5 separate regions of the Homo sapiens genome follow, and all the other regions are linked to region 1. Evidence: promoter capture Hi-C in 16 types of primary human blood cells and fetal thymus (Javierre and others, 2016). All regions are on one chromosome and are shown on one strand. Each heading gives the region's core, a stretch centred on a gene start or on the middle of the fragment in contact. The rest is flanking DNA. Distances are from core to core; before and after follow the strand shown.

What was found. The method cuts DNA at HindIII sites, captures the fragments that hold promoters and counts their contacts. A CHiCAGO score of 5 or more calls a contact.
Region 2: a contact is called between a fragment that was not itself captured here and the fragment with the promoter of SRRM3 in region 1, in 6 of 17 cell types (endothelial precursors, M1 macrophages, M0 macrophages and 3 more). The highest score is 9.0, in endothelial precursors.
Region 3: a fragment that was not itself captured here is called in contact with the fragment with the promoter of SRRM3 in region 1 in 3 of 17 cell types (megakaryocytes, endothelial precursors and M1 macrophages); the score reaches 6.8 in megakaryocytes.
Region 4: a fragment that was not itself captured here is called in contact with the fragment with the promoter of SRRM3 in region 1 in 3 of 17 cell types (endothelial precursors, M1 macrophages and M0 macrophages); the score reaches 7.0 in endothelial precursors.
Region 5: a fragment that was not itself captured here is called in contact with the fragment with the promoter of SRRM3 in region 1 in 2 of 17 cell types (M1 macrophages and M2 macrophages); the score reaches 6.5 in M1 macrophages.

What each region holds. Positions count from the first base shown.
Region 1 is chr7:76,200,646-76,204,822 of GRCh38, reverse strand. SRRM3 (serine/arginine repetitive matrix 3) reads right to left here and starts at 2,927. Exons shown (of 15, transcript NM_001110199.3): 1 at 2,756-2,927. RefSeq lists a silencer at 2,841-3,080. The HindIII fragment of the contact is 9,812 bases long and covers 1,142-4,177 here.
Region 2 is chr7:76,284,482-76,288,595 of GRCh38, reverse strand. It overlaps SRRM3 (serine/arginine repetitive matrix 3), which reads right to left. Exons shown (of 15, transcript NM_001110199.3): 15 at 1,309-2,981. The coding sequence ends at 2,753. Among named protein-coding and RNA genes, the nearest start is that of HSPB1, 16 kb to the left of the region's middle. The HindIII fragment of the contact is 6,291 bases long and covers 1-4,114 here.
Region 3 is chr7:76,266,426-76,270,599 of GRCh38, reverse strand. SRRM3 (serine/arginine repetitive matrix 3) reads right to left here. Exons shown (of 15, transcript NM_001110199.3): 11 at 3,165-3,342. Among named protein-coding and RNA genes, the nearest start is that of HSPB1, 34 kb to the left of the region's middle. RefSeq lists a silencer at 3,125-3,254 and an enhancer at 3,151-3,896. The HindIII fragment of the contact is 9,929 bases long and covers 1-4,174 here.
Region 4 is chr7:76,310,292-76,314,443 of GRCh38, reverse strand. No RefSeq gene overlaps it. Among named protein-coding and RNA genes, the nearest start is that of FPASL, 5.9 kb to the left of the region's middle. RefSeq lists an enhancer at 1-172. The HindIII fragment of the contact is 5,877 bases long and covers 1-4,152 here.
Region 5 is chr7:76,097,683-76,101,370 of GRCh38, reverse strand. It overlaps the pseudogene GTF2IP7. Among named protein-coding and RNA genes, the nearest start is that of MDH2, 51 kb to the right of the region's middle. The HindIII fragment of the contact is 3,262 bases long and covers 1-3,050 here.

The DNA of each region.
Region 1 (4,177 bases), core at 1,678-4,177:
AGGATTACAAGTGTGAGCCACTGCACCTGGCATTAAACCCCATCATTTTAGGGTTGGGGACACTGAGGCCAAGAGGTGGGAAGGGACCCCTTCAAGGTCATACAGGGAGCCAGGATCAGAGATAGGGCCAGAAAGAAGGTCCTTGGACTCATGTTCAAGAGTCCTTCAGTTGCCTTCACCATGTGCCACCCACCTCTCCAACACTCACTGGCCTACAGTGCCTGGATTGATTCTCGCCCTGGGGAGCCTGGAGAATCGGGGGCAGAGTGGTGTTGTGGAAGTCATCCTGGGGTCCTGAGGCAGTGGGGTTGGGTTGCACCAAGACCTTGCTCTGTGACTTTGGGAAAGTCCCATCACACCTTCAGGCCTTGTTTTTCTCCTATGTGAAAGGGAGACAGCAGCACCTTTGGGTCCAGGTTATGTGAGGATGAGATGAGATCATGTATACGAAGTTACAGGACCATGGGCAGAGGCTCAGTGTATGTGTAGGAGTGAAGAAAGAGGGGCTGGGCTTCTCTAACCTCCCCATTGGTGCCCCTGGAAGGCTTCTGAGACAGGAAGAGCTATGATTTTGTCCCTGGGGGACAATAAAATATGGGCAGAGGAGGGAGAAAAGTCAGGAAGGGAGGCTGACCCCAGCAGCGCTAGTAGCTGCTCCTGGCCATGGACCATCTCAGGAGGTGAGGGTGAACCACTAAGAAAGGAAGGAGCAGTCACTGGCTGGCAGAGGTCAGCAAGAGGTTGGGAGGCAGAGGAGGTGCAGAACGGGTGCAGCAGTGAGCAGATGGGACTGTCAGACCCAGACCCCCCCTTTGGCAGGTGTGACGGGGTAGAGGCACCCCGCTGGCCGGTTCAAGGCACATTCTACCTCTAAGTATCCCAGTGACCTTGTGGGAGTCACCTCCTTACTGCACTGTATGCCCTCACCCACCTGCCTCAGGCTCCCCACCTGTAAAGCTGGCATCATAAATCAAGACACTGGCATTGAACTGGGCCTTGATACTCAGAGGATGGGACAGGTCATCAGTAACTCTCCTGCCTCCAGGAGGACAGCGCGAGTGGCTTCATGACCTTGGGAAAGTCACTCAAGCTTCATTTCTCAGCTATGAAATAGGGACAATGATGCCTTCCTCATGAAGCTTCTGTGAGGATTAGCTGAGTCAACCGTTGCATTGTGCCCAGCATGGAGCTGGGCATGAGGCTCTCAACCACTGTTCATCTCCTCTGGGAACAGAAAAATGTGCTTCAAATATCACTGAACACTATTCCACATTTATCCAGCTCTTCTTTAAGAAATTCTTACTTGTCTCCTATTTACTAACACTCACCCAGCATTTTATACCGTAAAAGTAGTCTCCCATCTCCTTATCCAGATTATTTCTTTCAACAGCAAAGTAGACATTGCTAACACTACACCTGTTTTACAGATTGAAAACAGACTCAGAAAGGTCAATGGCTTACCTGAGGTCACATAACCTAGATTTGATCCCATGTCTTTCTGACATCAGAGTCCATGACTCCCAACCCACATACCCCTACCTCTTAAAACCCAGTTGACTCTTTAGTCAGTCTTCAAGAATACCTCCTCCACCCCACAGGAGAGTGGGATGGGGCATAAAGTTAAGGAACCAGAAAGCTACTGCTGTGTGGGAACAATTTCCTAGCCAGCTGGGTCCTATTTTTGACTGAGGAAGAAGCTGGCACAAACTGGGGCCATGACCTTAAGATGCTCCCTGGACAGAGGAACTTGTGCACGTCTCTCCGTCAAAGCCCAGCACCTGCCTTTTCTCTTGCCATGGGACAAAAGACCAGCTCAAGCCCCCGATGCTAGGGTGAGTGAGGTCTTAGGACAGCGAGAAGTTATGGCTGGGATAGGGCACAGGCATTGAAGTACCACGTCAGACCTTGGTACAACCTTCCCTTCCTCCCACTAAATCTCTCCCCACAATGGATCTGCTGTCAGGAGTAGGAACTGCAGGAGGCTTCAACACTGTCCAGGCAGGAGCCCTGGGAGGGAGGGGGAGGCGGAGGCAAGGCAGAGGCTGCGTCTTTTCTCAGCTCTCTTCTTTACCAGGAATTCACTCTGGCGCAGGTCTAACTCTGGGCTAGAAACTCTCTCTGGGCGTCCGTGGTTGGGGTGGGGGGTGTGCACAGAGAACCCCCTCCCAAATTCCTAGTAGCTATTTTCTCTTCTGTGTCCTCCATCCTCTTCCCAGTGCAAGAGTAAATGCCATCCTGTGAGACCCAGTTCTCCTTGCCAGCTCCTGCCTCCCTAGGGGCATTTGGGTAGCCGGGAAAGGGGCCAGGCTGTCCCCTGGGCCGGCACCTCCTGCTGGACAGAGGCCCAGCATCCAGGTGGGGGCCTGCTCCCTTCACCAGGGCCAGTGACCAGCATCTCCACAGGGTTACTGCATCGGTCCTCCCTTCCCTGGGGAGCAGGTCCTTCTCCTCAGTGGGACTGCGGTTGGGGGGCCTCCCTGGCACCCTCATGGACTAGGCCATGGTCATTTATGCCCAGGGGAGTCCTGCCCATGACCCCAAAGGTCTCCACTGTCTCCATCCCTCTCAGTGAAATGAATGTTCCTCATCTCTGCTCCCCGGGCGCCTGGCACCCCCGGACAGACGCCCTCGCCGACCTCCCACACTGCCCCTCTGCTCGGGGGAGCCTGCAGACCACGGGGGTGCTGGGGAGGCCCGAGCTTCCACCCAGCCCCAGCCCCTCGGGGATATGCCCCCGCCCCACAGGCGCTCTCACCTCACCGCTGACCGCCGCGATCTACCGGGCGCTGGGGCCAGGCCCTCGGGTCCCGCCGGTCCGGGCTGCCGCCTAGTCTGGGCTGAGTTGGGCAGGGCAGCTCCGCGGCCCCCACGGCCCCGCACCCTCTGCCTCCCCGCGGGTGCTGCCGCCGCTTGCTGAAATGCTGGACAGCGCACCGCCACCGAGGCGCCTCTCTGCTCGCCCGCCAGCCAGAGCGGCCCAGCCCCGCGCCCGCAGCGCCCTCCGCAGGCCTGGAGGAACGCCCGCAGCGGAGGCAACAGCCCGGGCGGCTGGGCCGGGCCGTCTCCCGGCCGGCTCCCCCTCCTCCCCGCCCCCTTCGCCCCCCTCCCCCCCTTCCCCTCGCCCCTCACCTCCCCACACCCCCGCCCCTATCCCCAGCCCCCGGGGACATCTGTTTCCCCCACTTGCGAGAGGAGGCATGTCAGCCCTGGAAGGCGCCTGGGGCAAGGGAGGTTATTAGTTTGGATCTGGGAAATGCAGTCGGTGTGCAGAGGCCTCGCCAGGACACTCTCTTCCCACCCAGTGTTAAAGAAGGCACCAGGGGCTGGGCGCGGTGGCTCACGCCTATAATCCCAGCACTTTGGGAGACTGAGGCGGGAGGATCACTTGAGGCCAGGAATTCGAGACCAGCCTGGCCAACATGGTGAAACCCAGTCTCTACTAAAAATACAAAAATTAGCCAGGCGTGGTCGCAGGCACCTGTAATCCCAACTACTCAGCTACTTGGGAGGCTGAGGCAGGAGAATCGCTTGAATCTGGGAGGCGGAGTTGCAGTGAGCCAAGATCGCACCATTGCACTCCAGACTGGGCGACAAGAGCAAGACTTAGGGTCAAAAATAAAATAAAATAAAATAAAATAAAAGGCACCAGGGAGGTGAGGTGGGAGGATCGCTGGAGCCCAGGAATTTGAGGCTGCAGTGACCTATGGTGGCGCCACTGCACTCCAGCCTGAATGACAGAGGCTGTCATTTTTTGACACCATCTCAAAAATTTAAAAAAAAAAAAAGGAGGGTGTAGTGTGAGAGACATCCTAATGGAGACAGGAGATTTTAAATTATTTTTTTAAATTTTAAAATTTTGGCTGGATGCAGTGGCTCACATCTGTAATCCTAACATTTTAGGAGGCTGAGGTGGGAAATCACTGAGCTCAGGAGTTTGAGACCAGCCAGGCCAACATGAGGAAACCCTGTCTCTATGAAAAATACAAAAATTTGCCAGATGTGGTGGCATGCATGCACCTGTGGTCCCAGCTACTTGGGAGGCTGAAGTGGGAGGAAGGCTTGAGCCTGAGAAGCGAAGGTTGCAGTGAACCAAGATTGCTCCATTGCACTCCATCCTAGGTGACAGAGCCTCAATTTGTCTCAAAAACAAAAACAAAACAAAAAAACAAAAACAACA
Region 2 (4,114 bases), core at 1,129-3,628, 84 kb before region 1:
CAGGCACCCTGCTAGTCCCTAGCCAGAGGCAGGCACGGGGTTTTCCCTAAGTGGCCACCATTTCTTTCCTTTCTTTTCTCTTTCTTTTCTTTGTTTTTTTTCTTTCTTTCCTTTGTTTTTTTGTTTTTTTGTTTTTTTTTTTGAGACGGAGTCTCGCTCTGTTGCCCAGGCTGGAGTGCAGTGGTGCAATCTCAGCTCACTGCAAGCTCCGCCTCCCGGGTTCACGCCGTTCTCCTGCCTCAGCCTCCCTAGTAGCTGGGACTACAGGTGCCTGCCATTATGCCCAGCTAATTTTTTGTATTTTTAGTAGAGATGGGTTTTCACCATGTTAGCCAGGACGGTCTTGATCTCCTGACCTCGTGATCCGCCTGCCTCGGCCTCCCAAAGTGCTGGGATTACAGGGGTGAGCCACCGCGCCTGGCCTCTTTTCTTTTCTTTCCTTCCTTCCTTTCCTTTTTCTTTCCTTCCTCTTCTTTCTTTTCTTTCTTTTTTGAGACAGAGTCTCACTCTGTTGCCCAGGCAGGAGTACAGTGGCTCGATCTCGGCTCACTGCAACCTTTGCCTCCCGGGTTCAAGCGATTCTCCTGCCTCAGCCTCCTGAGTACCTGGGATTATAGGTGCCCACCACCACACTCGGCTAATTTTTGTATTTTCAGTAGAGACGGGGTTTCACCATGTTGGTCAGGCTGGTCTCGAACTCCTGACCTCAGGTGATCCGTCCGCCTCAGCCTCCCAAAGTGCTGGGATTACAGGCGCGAGCCACCGCGCCCGGCTGTGGCCACCTTTTAAATGCTCACTCTATGGCAGTCACAGTCACTGAGCTGAGGACTGTCAGAATATTTCCTGCCCACCTCATCTCAGCTGTGTGTCACATGGCTGGGAGGCACAGGAGCCAGGATGCATGCCTGCATGCTGCCTCAGGCTGTGTCCCAACCACTCTGTGACACCCCACCATGTTGTGAGTGTCCCCTGTGCCTATGTCCACCCTGTGTCTCCTCCCTCTACCCCATCCCTACCCACTGCTGAAGGTAGCCTGGGTGTGTGGGCTCAGGCAGCCCACCCCGTGGGATGTTCAAAGTCCACCCGGCCTCCAGGCTGGGAGGAAGGTCTCTTTGGGTCCCTGTTTTAGCCTCAAGCTCAGAGGCAGGGGGATAGACACACTGGCTCCTGGATGCCAGCTCTTCTCTCTGGGGTCCCAAGGAGCAGTCTGAGCCTTTCGCCTCCCTCAGAGGAAGACCCCAGCCCCGCTGCCCTCCTGAATCTCCCGGGGTGCCAACATGCACAGAGGCCTGGTCTCACCACCTACCATCCGGGCACCAAGGGTTTTATTCGAGTCCAATTTTTATCCGCACTGCGGAGAAAGAGGGAGGGGGGACATAGAGAAAGCGGGGAACCCGGACCAGACCCCAGACCCCTCCCCCCACTGGAGCCCGGGGCATCTGCCTGGTTGGGCCAAGGAAGACTTCATGAGATCCCTGAGGGCCCCAGGAGGAGGGGGCTGGGAGCAGCAGAAGAGGACTGGGGGCCACCGCTTCCCCATCGACGCCCCAGGCCAGGGCCCTCAGTCTCTTTCCTCCCCTCCCTTCTGAGGGCTGTAGCCTCCATCTCTACAGAGGCTCGGCTGGCCATGACCCCATCAGACCCCCAAGGTACTCCCTTGTCAGGTCCAAAGCACATGTTATCCTATGCCTGTGACCCTGGGCTGCCATCCAGCCCACGTCCCAGACCACAGGCACACGCTGCCCTCCTCTTGGGTGGGGCTGGGGGCACTGCTGACCTGTCAGCTGCTCCCTCCCCAGGGACCCGTCTCCACTCCCTGGGGGCTACTCAGTCAGTGAACGACTTTGCTTTTTCTCTTTCCTACAGATTCCACCTCCCATCTACCCCTTTCCTCTCCCACCTCTTGACCTGAACCCCTTTTAACCTCAGGGTCAAATGTACCTGAGGTCTGTACCCCCCACCTCTTGTCATGCAGTAGTCATGGCTGGTAGGACCTTGGCCCAGGGCATGGGGTGAGGAGAGCCTGGCCTGGAGAGGTCAGACCAAGAGTGAGGTGCCTAGCTCCCCAGGCTGGGATTTTGGGGGCCACCCGTCTGGGCACTCCTGGGTCAGTGGAGGAGCTTGGGGGAGGCTGTGGGGCCAGCCACCAGCCCTCAGCCAGGGTCCTCCTGCAGCCAGCTCAAAAGGATGCAGCTCCCCAGCTTGGATGGGGGTGCACCAAGGGTTAGGCTGTTCTTCCTTCTGTCTAGCTCCAAACCCATGTGCTGTACCACCTCCTCGTCTGCCCAGTGATAAGAGAGGAGTGGAGGGAGCTGTGTAGTGCGGAAGAGGGGCTCCCAGGGCTGGCACCTTGCAAGGTGTCCCTGGCTGCACTGAGCTAAGGTGAAGTGACAGAGCAGATCATGGACTCTGGTACCATCCACCGGCAGCAGTCCCAAGCCTGGTGAGTTGGCATCAGCAGGAAGGGGGATGGGGAGATTCCTGTGTTCGTAACGGCTCTTTGTTCCCCGGGCACAGTGGGTGGACAGGAGGTGGGAGAGGACACCCGTAGAAGCAGCACATCTGGCTTCTCCTTGTCCACTGGATGCCCACCCTCAAAGTCTTCCCCGGTCCCATCTGCCCGTGCACTGGCCCTGAGACCTCTTTGTAGCCTTGGGGGCAAGGAGATATAGCCCCCTCCCCACTGGGGTCCTGGGGCCCGCCCCTCGCCTCTCCCAGTGCCAGGGGGGCACCAAGCTGAGTCTGTCTGGGCTCAGAAGCCCCCGCTCTCAGAGCTGCTCCGGCTGTGGTAGCTGGGACTGGGGGTCCTCGAGGGGCTGCGTGTCCGGCTGCGGGTCCCATGGCTGCGACTGCTGTAGCTCCCGTGGCTGTGGCCGGGGCTGGGGCTGCGGCTGTGGCTCCGGGTCGAGTAGTCGCTGCTCAAGCAGCTGGAGGAGGAAGAGGGGCTGGGCCGGTAGTATGGAATAGGACGCTTGCGGGCGCTGCCGGGAAGAAAAAGCTGATTACAGGCCATCCCAGGCCCCGAGCCCCATCCCAGCAGCGGCCAGGGCTTCCTGCCTCAGTTTCCCCTGAGCCCTGGCCTTAGAGACACCTGCCTTCTCCAAATGGAATCTGACGGTCATTGGTTACTTGCAAATTCCATGTTGATCATTTTGCTTTTCTTCACCTATCTGCAGGGAAAGGAGACCATGTCTCTGCCCGATCCGAACACCTGCTAATAAATACTTGTTGAGGCTGGGCGCGGTGGCTCACGCCTGTAATCCCAGCACTTTGGGAGGCTGAGGCGGGCGGATCACTTGAGGTCAGAAGTTTGAGACCAGTCTGGCCAACATAATGAAACCCTGTCTCTACTAAAAATACAAACATTTGCCGGGCATGGTGGTGTGCACCTGTAATCCCAGCTACTTGGGAGGCTGAGGTGGGAGGATCGCTTGAACCCCAGAGGCGGAGGCTGCAGTGAGTGGAGATTGCGCCACTGCACTCCAGCCTGGGTGACAGAGTGAGACTCCGTCTCAAAAAAAAAAACTTGTTGAATGAATGAAACTTGCAAATGTGGACAGCTCCCATCACCCAAGCTGGCGTGTAAGTGTCTGTGACTACGTCCCAGCCCTGCCTCTCTGTTCCCCTGTCCCCTCTGCAATCAAGGAATTTGTTGCTTTCAGGTCACTCGAAAGGAACAAGGAGGGGAGTCCTGGCCGCTGCTCCCCATGCCCACGGTCCGGTCCAGTCCCGCCGGCCCCACTCCTCACTCAGCTACCTCCCGCTGGCCCAGAGTTAGTTGGAAGCCAGGAGGCTATGACCCAGAGAAGAGAAAAGAGAGGTTAAGGGGCAACACTGCCCCGTCGCAGGGTTAATTCTGAGGAAGAAAACAGGTGTACGTTAGTGGAGGAGGAGGCAGCCTGGGAGAGGGGCTGAGTGGGTGCCAGGTGGAAGGTGTGAGGGCCTGGCCTACGGGCAGGGTGTGTGACCTGTCTGGGGGCGTCCCCAGCCTGGTGAGTTGGCATCAGAAGGAAGGGGGGACGCAGGAAGATCCCTGGGTTCAAAATGGCTCTTTGTTCCTTGGGCACGGTGGCTGGACAGGAGGTGGGAGAGGACATCCGTTAGAAGTAGGACA
Region 3 (4,174 bases), core at 959-3,458, 66 kb before region 1:
CCTCAGGTGATCTGCCCACCTCAGCCTCCCGAAGTGCTGGGATTACAGGTGTGAGCCACCATGGCCAGCCGAATTTTTGTATTTTTAGTAGAGCTGGGGTTTCATCATGTTGGTCAGGCTGGTCTTGAGCTCCTGACCTCAGGTGATCCGCCCCCCTCAGCCTCCCAAAGTGCTAGGATTACAGGTGTGAGCCACTGTGCCCAGCCCAAGATGGAATTTTTTGCTTGCCTGAAGTGTCTCAGCTAAACTCTGCCAGGTGCCTTCAGATCTCTCCTTCCTCCACAGTTTCCTAAGGATCTGAGTCTGAGGTCTGACACTGATGGTCCTGAACAGCCTGTCCTGCTCCCTGTCCCCTGTGTCCAGCCCATTATACTAAACTGAACCGAGGAGTAGCAGCAAGCTCCAAGAAGCTCCCTGGGCAACCCAGGACAAGTCTCTTCCCCTCCCTGGGTCTCCCGCTTCTCTCCAGCTTCCTGGGGAACGCAGCAGCACAGGCTGCACCACTATAGTTAATTTAAAATCTGCGGCAGCTCCAGCCTGTGCCTGGAGTTGAAAGGAGGATTTGCTGCCGCTGCTGACTTGGCAGGAGCTGTTGGTGTGGGAGTGATTTTTTTTTTTAGAGTTATCTTCCCTTTTAAATTCAGATTACAAAGGAAAAAAAAGTATATAGAGATGTGTATATGATTAATGTTCACTTAAAATTCAAAAGCCATCTCTGCATTAAGAGGAAAGGTTCCCACAGTAACACACACAAAAAGAAAATTCTAGAACATAGAAGATAGAAAAAAAAAACCCAGAGAGATAGTTTGCATTTCTGTACATTAAAATAGGGAAAAAAAAAAAGAAAGGAAAAGGAAATAAAAACAAAACAACAGAAAAAGTTACATAAACTTGCCCACCCTCTTCCCTCACCAGCTAAACAAGAAATGGAATCACAGTATTACCACGTTTCAAATGGGAGGCTAAAAAACAAACAAAAACATAGACGGGGTTAAAAAATGTTGAGCTTTCCTTTTTTTCCATTTGTTTCTCTCTCTCTTTTTTTCTTTTCTTTTTTTTTTTAAAGGTATCGTCCAAGAATACCACCCCCAGTATTTTTTCCCGAAGACGGTTTCGTTCATGGTAAAGTCTGGGACCCCTCTCCCATCCCCCATCTCACTTTTCTGCATATGAGCAAGAACTAGCCTCTTTTGACTCCTCAGGGGTCTTTTTAAGGCAGAGAGGCAGGGATCTGAATGCAGGTTTGAGACCCGGGATGCTCTGAAGTCCCAGATCTCCCAGGGCCCCAAGGGTGAGGGATAGGATTTGGGGACCATGCTTGGTGAAAGGAGTCACAAAATGCCGTCTCCAAGAAAACTCCCAGGGCTGTGCCAAACTAGAGTCCCATGCTGGGAGGGAGACAAGATGTGGGTGCTTCAGAAGCTCCCGCCCCAAGGCTGGTGGCTGGGTCCCCTTCCCCGACTGCCCTATCCTGGGGATGCCTAGATGCTGTGGCCATTTTGTCTGCATTGGGGAGGGGGTGGAGGTGGGATCATTGCTCAGGACTCCAGGGCTGGAGAGAGGACCAGAGGTACGAAGGGACCCACTTCCAGCCCTGACTTCAGAGAACCCGCATCTCTGTGTCTCTTGGGAGGCCCCAGAAGGGTGGATGAGAAGCTGGCAAGAAGGTGTTTCGGGTCCTGTGCTCTTGGGACTCCATGCCCACAGGGGTGGGGGATGGTGGGTGCCCCTCTTGTGGGTTGTTAATCCTCTCCAGCCTCTGCCATGCTACCCTCAGCTACCTCTGCCTGCCCTCAACCCCCTCCCAAGACAGATCCGGGGACATCAGTGTCATCCTCCCTGCGCGGCCCAACCAAAACCCCCAGAGCCCAGGAGCCTGGTGCCTGGTCCAGGTGGGACAGTCTAGAGACAGGTAAATGTCCTTCAATAAAACTTAACCTTGAGACCAAGAGCCTTCAGTCAGCTGCCCTTGACTTTCCTCTCTGAGGCCGTGGGAGTAAAGGGTGTTTGAGAAAAGAAAGGGAGTGAAAGGAAACAGCCAAAAATCAAAATGAAACTGACCAACACGTACATGTTTGCTGCTGAGACCTGAGGTCTGGGGAGGGGCAGCTCTCCCACTCCCAGCTGAGGCTTTGGGGTTGGGTGGGGGGCAGTCTGCGGGTCTGGGAAGGAACCTGCAGGTCTCCCCACCCCAAGCCACCCCCCCACCCACCCCAGTGCCCCTGCCAGCACTGCAGCCCCCTCTCTCTGAGGGGTCTCAACTGTGTACTCTATAATCAACAGACCAGAAGGGGATGTGGACCTTCCCTGGGGTCTGGGAGAAGCCCCAACCCAGGCCCAGCCCATCCATCTGGGGACAGGCTGAGACGTCTCTCTCCTCTGCCAGCTCCCCCATTGCACCTGCCTGTAGGTCTTCGGGCATCTGTGCCCCTCTTGGAGGAAGGGTGGGGACAGTTTTGGGGGTGTTGGTGTGGGGTCTCTGAGGCACGCTGGCAGGTGCCTCAGGAGGGTGGCCGTGGGAAGAGGAGCCGGCAGGTTTGAGACACCAGTCCAAGTGTGGGCGGTGCCTGGAAAAGGGCAGAGTCTCCTCAGAGCAGGGACTTTAGAGGGCAGAGGGACTGAGATGGGGGAGGGGGCTGAGGGAGGGAGGGGCTGGGGAGAAGATTGAGGGAGGGGGAGGGGGGTGCTCAGAGGTGGGGCCAGGGCTTGGTGGGAAGAGGGAGACTCAGGGCCCAGGTGGTGCCCAGTGGGGGGTCCTGTCTCTCGAATCCTGCTCCTGCCTGGGACTCCTATCAATGTCCATGCCCCTCCCACCCTAATATGCCTGGGGAGGGCACGAGACCCTGATTCCTCCCCAGCCCTGTACCCAACTCAGTGCCCCGCGGTCAACCCCCCTCTGGCCTTCAGTTTGCCAAGCGCAAGGGTGGCCCAAGACCGCAGGCGCCCCTCACCCTGACACCAGGGCCAGGTGGGCGCAACGGCCTAGCACTCCCGGCGGCTCCCGAGCCAGGACGCCCAGCGGGGAGCCGAGGAGGGAGGAAGCGGCCGCCCCCGCCCCCGCCCCCATGCCACACTTATCGCCCCCTGCCCCGCTGGCGACCCGCCCGACCACGCACGGCGCAGCCCGCGGCGCGGGAACCCTCCGCAAAGCGAAGCGTACGTACATCGGGCGGGCTGTGCGCCGAGCCGGGGCGGCCCCCGTGCGCTCCGCTCCGCTGCCCGCTGCCGCCGTTCCGCTGGGGCGACCCCCATCCGCTGCCGCCCGACGGGGAAGGCGACCGGCTTCCGCTGGACCGCTGGCTGCCCGTCTTTCGCCCTTCGTCTCGGTGCTTGGGGCTCAGCCTGGGGTTAGGCGCCAGGAAGAATGGGGGAGTCGGCGTGGGACACCCGCTTTGCAAGCAGTTGCGCCTCCTCTTTCCCCCTTCCCCAGCACGGGGAAAGAGAGCAGCCCTCCACCTGCCTTTTCACCATGCTGGGAACCTTTCCACTTAGAGAGGGCTTGACCAGGGTGAGCCAGCGAGGCTGTGCCTCGATTTCCAATTCAGGCGGAGGCTTAGGGGCCTTAGGGCAGCTCTTCCTCAAGTTATCACTCCCCTGGTAAATTTCTCTTTTTAAAAATTATTATTAGGCTGGGCTTGGTGGCTCACGCCTGTAATCCCAGCACTTTGGGAGGCCGAGACAGGCGGATCGCTTGAGGTCAGGAATTCGAGACCAGGCTGTTCGAAATGGCGAAATCCCATCTCCGCTAAAAATACAAAAATTAGTCGGGCATGGTGGTGCACGCCTGTAATCTCAGCTACTCGGGTGGCTGAGGCTGGAGAATTGCTTGAATCCCGGAGGCGGAGGTTGTAGTGAGCCAAGATTGCACCACTGCTCTCCAGCCTGGGCAACACAGCAATACTCGTCTCAAAATATATATTATATATATAAATATATATAATAATATATATAATATATAAATATATTAAATATATATTAATATATAACATAATTAAATATAAATATATAAAATATATAATATATAAATGTTTATATATTATATATTTAATATATAAATATTTATATATTAAATATATAATATATAAATATTTATATATTAAATATATAAATATATAAAATATATAAATATTTATAATATATATAAATATTAAAATATATATCTATATTTATATAT
Region 4 (4,152 bases), core at 1,291-3,790, 110 kb before region 1:
TGTGGGTCCGCAAACCCCAGGGCGTCCTCTAGGGGGCAGTCTCGGGCCTGCCTGCGCACAGCTCCATCCTCCGTGTGGGAGGGGCTGAGGCTTCCTGCCTGATCTTGACTTGAGCCCGGGTGGGGATTGATTTATCTTTCTCCCACCCAGAGCCCACTACCCCCTGCTGAGGGGATCGGTCTGTGGGGCTGCTCCCAGGGTTCAAGGCTTTCAGGCTGGGCAGACCTGGAGAAGAGGGGTCTTTGGGGCCACGGGAGGAATTACAAAGGGATAGTTTGGGCATCAGGGTTCAGAGACAGGTGGGGTGGAATTCAGAGAGGGGAGGGGCCTCAAACAAGGGAGGGGAGAGTGGGGAAGTGAGGAAGTGCAGTCATGGGGTGGGAGCTCAGGGAAGACGGGTGAACTCCAAGAAAGGCCAGGTGAGGCGGCTCACATCTGTAATCCCAACACTTTGGGAGGTGGAGGCAGGAGGATCACTTGATTCCAGGAGTTCGAGACCTCCCTGGGCAACATAGTGAGACCCGCATCTCTACAAAAAATTAGAAACTTACCAGGTATAGTGGCGCACACCTGTTGTCCCAGCTACTCGGAAGGCTGGACAGGAGGATTGCTTGAGCCCAGGAGTTGGAGGTTGCAGTGAGCTATGATCTCACTAGTGTACTCCAGCCTGGAGACAGAGTGAGACCTGGTCTCTAAAAAAGAAAACAAAAAGAAAAGAAGAAGCCAAGCACGGTGGCTCATGCCTATAATCTCAGCACTTCAGGAGGCCAAGACGGGCGGATCACCTGAGGTCAGGAGTTCAAGACCAGACTAGCCAACATGGTGCAACCCCGTCTCTACTAAAAATACAAAAATTAGCTGGGTATGGTGGTGCACACCTGTAATCCCAGCTAATCTGGAGGCTGAGGCACAAGTATTACTTGAACCCATTGGGAGGAGGCTGCAGTGAGCCAAGATGGTACCACTGCACTCTGGCCTGGGCAATAGAGCGAGACTCTGTCTCAAAAAAAGAAAAGAAAAAAAAGAAAGAAAGAACGGATTTCCTGTGCGAGGAGGGACTTGGTGTTGGGAGGGGTACAGTCAGGTAGTGGAGCTGAGTCAGGGAGGGACAGAATCAGTGGGGCAGATGGGAACTCACGAGGGGTCCAGTGAGGGCATGAGGGCCAAGAGAGGGTAGGTGAACCCAAAGAAGGGAGTGATTTCTTTTTTGTTTGTTTGTTTGTTTGTTTGTTTTTGTTTTGAGATGGAGTTTTGCTCTTGTTGCCCAGGCTGGAGTGCAATGGCACTATCTCAGCTCACCACAACCTCTGCCTCCTGGGTTCATGCCATTCTCCTGCCTCAGCCTCCTGAGTAGCTGGGACTATAGGCGCCTACCACCACACCTGGCTAATTTTGTATTTTTAGTAGAGATGGGGTTTCTCCATGTTGGTCATGGCTGGTCTTGAACTCCTGACCTCGTGATCTGCCTGCCTCAGCCTCCCAAAGTGCTGGGATTACAGGTGTGAGCCACTGCGCTGGCTGACCTTTTTTTTTTTTTTTTTTGAGATGGAGTCTCGCTCTGTCACCCAGGCTGGAGTGCAGTGGCTCAGTCTTGGCTCACTGCAACCTCCACCTCCCGGGCTCAAGTGATTCTCATGCCTCAGCCTCCCGAGTAGCTGGGACTACTGACACCCACCACCATGCCTGGCTAATTTTTTTTGTATTTTGGTAGAGACTGGGTTTCACCATGTTGCCCAGGGTGGTCTTGAACTGCTGAGCTCAAGTGATCCGTCCGCCTCGGCCTCCCAAAGTGCTAGATTACAGGTGTGAGCCACTGCACCCGGCGGGAGTGACCTCTTTGTCATCCATCCACCTGATTAAGTTTTCAACCTCCTTATCCTGTGGTCCCACCAGCCTGAAGACATAGACGCTCCCAGCCATTCCTAAGAGGACTTTGAGGAGCCCATCATATGGAGAGCAGAACGACATAGGGAAAAAAGGGGTTACTTAGTGGGGTCAGGGGCCAGACTGAAGGCCTTTCTCACCCAGGCCCTTGTTGGTCATGCACAGAAATATCTGCATATCCTCAAGTCCCCCTGGGACTTTGGTCTTCCTACGATTGTTAGGGGACCTGGGTAGCTTCCACTATTCATGACTCCCCCTAGATCGTCACCCTGCATGGGACTGACAACACCAACAGACAACCAGAGGTCCCCCAGAAGTGAAGTCTCAGAATGGAAACTGAGCCCAGGGCCAGGCTGCACCCCAGCCCATGTCTCCGCCAGGGTGCAGCGGGCCCAAACCAAGGTCTGGCCCCAGCCCTGGGCTTTTTCCCTGGTTTTTTTTTTTTTTTTTTTTGAGATGGAGTCTTGCTCTGTTGCCCAGGCTGGAGTACAATGGCGCTATCTCAGCTCATGGCAATCTCTGCCTCCTGGGTTCAAGCAATTCTCCTGCCTCAGCCTCCAGGGTAGCTGTGATTACAGGTATCCGCCACCATGCCTGGCTAATTTTTTGTATTTTTAAGTAGAGATGGGGTTTCACCCTGTTGGCCAGGCTGGTCTTGAACTCCTGACCTCAGGTGATCCGCCTGCCTCGGCCTCCCACAGTGCTGGGATTACAGGTGTGAGCCACCTCGCCCGGCTGGCTTTTTCCTAAACATGGAGCTACTCCTGCCGCCTCAATCAATTCTTTATTTTTTTTAGAGACAAGGTCTTGCTCTGTCACCCAGGCTGGAGTGCAGTGGCATGTCCATAGCTCACTGTAGCTTCGAACTCCTGGGCTTAAGAGATTCTCCCGCCTTAGCCTCCCAAGTAGATCAGACTGCAGGCACCACCGTGCCCAGATAATTTCTTATTTTTAGTAGAGCCAGAGTCTCACTATGTTGCCCAGGCTGGAATGCAGTGGTATGATCATAGCTCACTGCAGCCTCAACCTCCTGGACTCGAGCCATCCTCCTGCCTCAGCCTCCTGAGTAGCTGGGACTATAAACATATGCCACCATGCTCAGAATTTTTTTTTTTCTTTGAGATGGAGTTTCACACTTGTTGCCCAGGTGGAGTGCAATGACACAATCTTGGCTCACTGCAACCTCTGCTTCCCAGGTTCAAGCGATTTTCCTGCCTCAGCCTCCTGAGTAGCTGGGATTACAGGCAAGCACCACCACATCTAGCTAATTTTTGTATTTTTAGTAGAGATAGGGTTTCGCCATGTTGGTTAGGGCTGGTCTTGAACTCCTGACCTCAGATGAACCACCTGCCTCAGCCTCCCAAAGTGCTGGGATTACAGGTGTGAGTCACTGTGTCCAGCCCCAGCTAATTTTTAAAAACGTTTTTGGTAAAGATGGGGACTCACTATGTTGCTTAGGTTGGTCTTGAACTCCTGGGCTCAAGCGATCTTCCCGATTCAACCTCTCAAAGTGCTGGGATTACAGGCATGAGCCACTGCGCCTGGCCTTGATTCATTCTTTAACCCCAATCCCTCCTGGCAGGCTCTGCCCCCTTGTTCAGTCCTGGGGCGGTGGGCAGGGAGGGGGAAGACTTCCTTCTACCAGAGTCAGCTGCTGATACCATCACTGTCATCTTAGGCAGGGCAGCTGCTGTACCCAGCTGAGAAGAAGGGTGGGAGGGGCTGTTATGCTATAGGAACCCCGCCCAGAGGGAGTCTGTTTTTCCCAGGGTCCCCAGCTGTGCTCTTTTCTCCCTGGGCTGAGTCGAGAGCCCTGGCTGGACACTTGCTTTTTGTTTGCAGGCCAGCCAGGGAGGCTCTGCCACCCTCGTGCTCCTGCCCGAGGCCATCCCACGAGTCTGTTATTGATCCAGAGCCGTCCCTTCTCAGCCAAGCCAGGGATTCCCGGCATTTGTCACACTGCCAACTCTCCCAGCACCAACTGGCGGTTGGCAGGGCTGTCTCTTGTAAGCAGCCCATGAAAATATGGCTCGTCCTTGGGAGGCACAGTTAGATGGGCAAAGCGAGGTCCAAAGTCACCTGGCGAGTTGGAAAGGGAAAGAGAACCAGAGGTCTCGACCAGGAGGAGCGTGCCAGGAATGGAGTGATCTCTGCTTATGCGTGGGTCTCCATCCCTGGCCTCCTCAGCGCTGGCACCCAGGGCATCGGTTGATGGGTAGAACAGTGCACCCTTTGGGGTGGAGTGCACGCACCCTGCTCCTGCCCTGC
Region 5 (3,688 bases), core at 170-2,669, 100 kb after region 1:
GTGTTTGAATCAAATCCCAAGTTCCTGTACGTAGAAGGTTTGCCAGACAGGATTCCCTTTCGAAGCCCTCCTGGTTTGGAATTCCATGACTTGAAAGGATCGTCCATGGGAGTAATAAAATCAAATTTGTTGGTAAAAAGTAAGTTTTAGGCCAGGCGTAGTGGCTCACGTCTGTAATCTCAGCACTTTATGAGGCTGAGGTGGGCAGATCACCTGAGGTCCGGCGTTCGAGACCAGCCTGGCAAACATGGCAAAACCCCGTATCCACTAAAAATACAAAAAATTAGCCGGGCATGGTGGCGGGCACCTGTGATCCCAGCTACTTGGGAGGCTGAAGCAGGAGAATCACTTGAACCTGGGAGGCAGAGGCTGCAGTGAGCCGAGATCACAACACTGCACTCCAGCCTGGGTGACAGAGTGAGACTCTGCCTCAACAACAACAACAACAACAACAATAAAAAAGTAAGTTATATTTGCCACTGTAGTCATTTCTGGAATTAAAACAATAAAATGACATTTCTACTAAAATGTTTTTCTAGCTAGAAGTGACAGGTGTGTCTGTAAGTCCTTGATGGAAAAGCCTGGCTCTGAGCTGCAGTCCTGGCACTCTCCATTGCCCCTGCCATTCCCCATCCCATACTCAGTCATCTTCATCAGTGCAAGAATAGTGACCACTGCCTCCCCGATGTTCAGACACACTGTGGTGGCTTGCAGTATGCCTAAGTACTTGAATGAAGTTTAATCTGCTGGGTTTTATCTGCTCTGTTATTCCTGGGTCAATCTTATTAGCAAGTAAATATTGATGATTGAGTTTCTTTTCCTTTTTCTGAGACAGAGTTTCACTCTTGTTACCCAGGCTGCAGTGCAATGGCACGATCTCGACTCACTGCAACCTCCACCTCCCAGGTTCAAGTGATTCTCCTGCCTCAGCCTCCCAAGTAGCTGGGATTACAGGCATGCACCACCATGCCCGGCTAATTTTTGTATTTTTCGTAGAGACGGTGTTTCACCAAGTTGGTCAGGCTGGTCTCAAACTCCTGACCTCAGGTGACCCACCCACCTCAGCCTCCCAAAGTATGGGGACTGCAGGTATGAGCCACCGTGCCCGGCCTGATGATGGAGGTTTTTTTTTAATTATATCTGCGTTTCTGCAGAATTTTGGTGGCTGAAGAAAGTACACTAGTGTTAATTTTCTTTTTCATGAAAGAAGTAATTTACTTTTCATACAATTACTTGCCAGTCATGGGAAGGAAAAGTCAGGGTTTTCATCTACAATGATAGGAATTATTGTGACATTACAGGATGACTCTGTGAACACCTTTAGGAAAAAACCCTGGTCATATCACAACCGTTTTACTAGCTGTGAGGCCACCATTGTACTGGCTGCTGTAACATTTCTTGGTTTTCTTTCTAGACCTGAACTGGTTATTTCCTACTTGCCTCCTGGAGTTGCTAATAAAATAAACACTAAAGGTAAGAGATTACCTGTGTTTTGTATTATATTTCACTACATTAAGACATTCTTTATCAGCATTCCTTAAATCACACAGAATCATTGGCCATTCTCTTTGTGGGACTTGCAGTTAATTTCTTGGCTTTTTAAGGTATTTTATTTAATGGACCTCTTTTTCTTTAAAAAAAATTTTGTTGGAAGTGTCACATTTGCAATCCCACTTCATTCATGTTTCCATGGCTTTGTTGAGTCCCCTGTGGAGGATTACACTACAAGTTTAATTCTGCAGGTTTCTTTGAAAAGAGCCAAACTGAATGAATTTTAATACTCCGCTCTTATAAAGCATTTCCTTCTGTATTTTTTTCTACAATATACTAAAGTAATTCTGTGCTTTATTTTATAGCTTCGCAGTTTCTAAAAAGACCATGAAGCCCTGAGAGTAATGAAAAGGTTCCTGAAATTGAGGTCACTGTGGAAGGTAAGGGCCAGTCCTTGGCATGTTTCTGTTGATTCTCCAGTTTAATAGTTATGTCAATTCACTAGCTACATGTTTATACAGATGAAGGTAACCAAACTAGTTTTACCTGTGAACAGCTGCCTGTGATAAAGCTAAATTTCTGAATGTCTTTAATTGAAATTTTGAAAATTATTAACAGGAAATAAATAACATGGATCACATCATAAACTGCACTCAAGAAAATCCCTAAAATGCTTTTCCTTTATTACAACAAATAAGGGTGCAGAGGGTCACATGGAATGTTTCATCTTTTGTCTTGTTTTTTCTGTTCTTTTAAGGAAAGAAAGTTGAGGGGTGGTTTAAAAAGCAGTGCCTGGAATGAAAGTATTTCCTACAACATCCTCTAATGTACTTCCTTCTCTCCATGCCCACGGGGTCTGCAGGGTTCTCATCTTTTCATGTTCACAGTATTAAAATACTTCCTACAATACCAAAGACAGTTCCCAAACAACCATCAAATATGGGTATTTCTTCCATCTCCTCATAAATGCAAAAGGAAATAACCGCATTAGGATCATTCTTTTTTATTTGGAGATGAAAGTCTCGCTCTGGCACCCAGGCTGGAGTGCAGTGGCATGATCTCTGCTCACTGCAGCCTCAGCATCCCAGGTTCAAGCAGTTCTCCTGCCTCAGCCTTCCGAGTAGCTGGGACTCCAGGTGCACACCACCACATCTGGCTAATTTTTTGTATTTTAGTAGAGATGGGGTTTCACCATGTTGCCCAAGCTGGTCTCAAACTCCTGAGCTTAGGCAGTCTGCCTACCTTGGCCTCCCAAAGTGCTAGGATTACAGGCGTGAGCCGCCACGCCCAGCCTAGGATCATTTTTTTTTATGTCCTAGGTGTCGATTTTTTAAATAAGGGTTTGCAGTACTGGTGTTTAGTGGTGCAGTAATTTCCATTTAATAATCTGGCATACTCAAAGAGAGGATACCAGATGACTTAAGAGTATACCTCACAGAGAGTATACCAGATGACAGAGTATACCAGATGACTGAGAGTATACAGAGAGTATACCAGATGACTAAATGGGGATTAGAGTATTTAAACTCTTCATTCATTCATCCTGTTAAAGGAAAGCTTACTTAATAACATAAACTCTTGGTTATGAATTAGATGTTTCTCCTATGAAAGCTTGTGGGCATCTTTGAGCAACTTAATACCTGACTATTTCTGTTCAAAAATGCCGAGAACTAAAAATCCATTCAAACCTTTACTTTTCTCCTTTTGGAAAAGATCAGAGGATCAGAGATCTCTCCTCAACACGAGGTGCCATCCTTTCCTGAAGGAGCTCCTTGTAAAGTGCATGAGGTGTTCCTTTTGGTAAAAAGACACACTGCGCGACCGCAGAGACCTGAGCCTGAACCTATAAAGATCTGAACAAGGTGAACAATGAGACTATGTAAAGGGGAGGTTAATTCCAAGGTGACAGGAACTTTATGGATAAGATTATGATTTCTACACTTCGTGTCACCTTCTAACTCTAGTATGAAGTTACATTGTATATGTTGGTGCCCTAATCTCAGTCTGTGGATATTAGATATTAAGATTGGGGAGAAAATAAAACAGCCAGTTAATGTGCACCATTTTTACAGGCACTGTCAGTAGCATATAAGAAATAGCATGTTTCTCAAAAGTAAATTAGTTCATAGTAGTCAGTTGGCACATTTGGCAGGTACTTCTGTGAACTTTTTTTTGGTATCTTTAAACTCTTCATTCA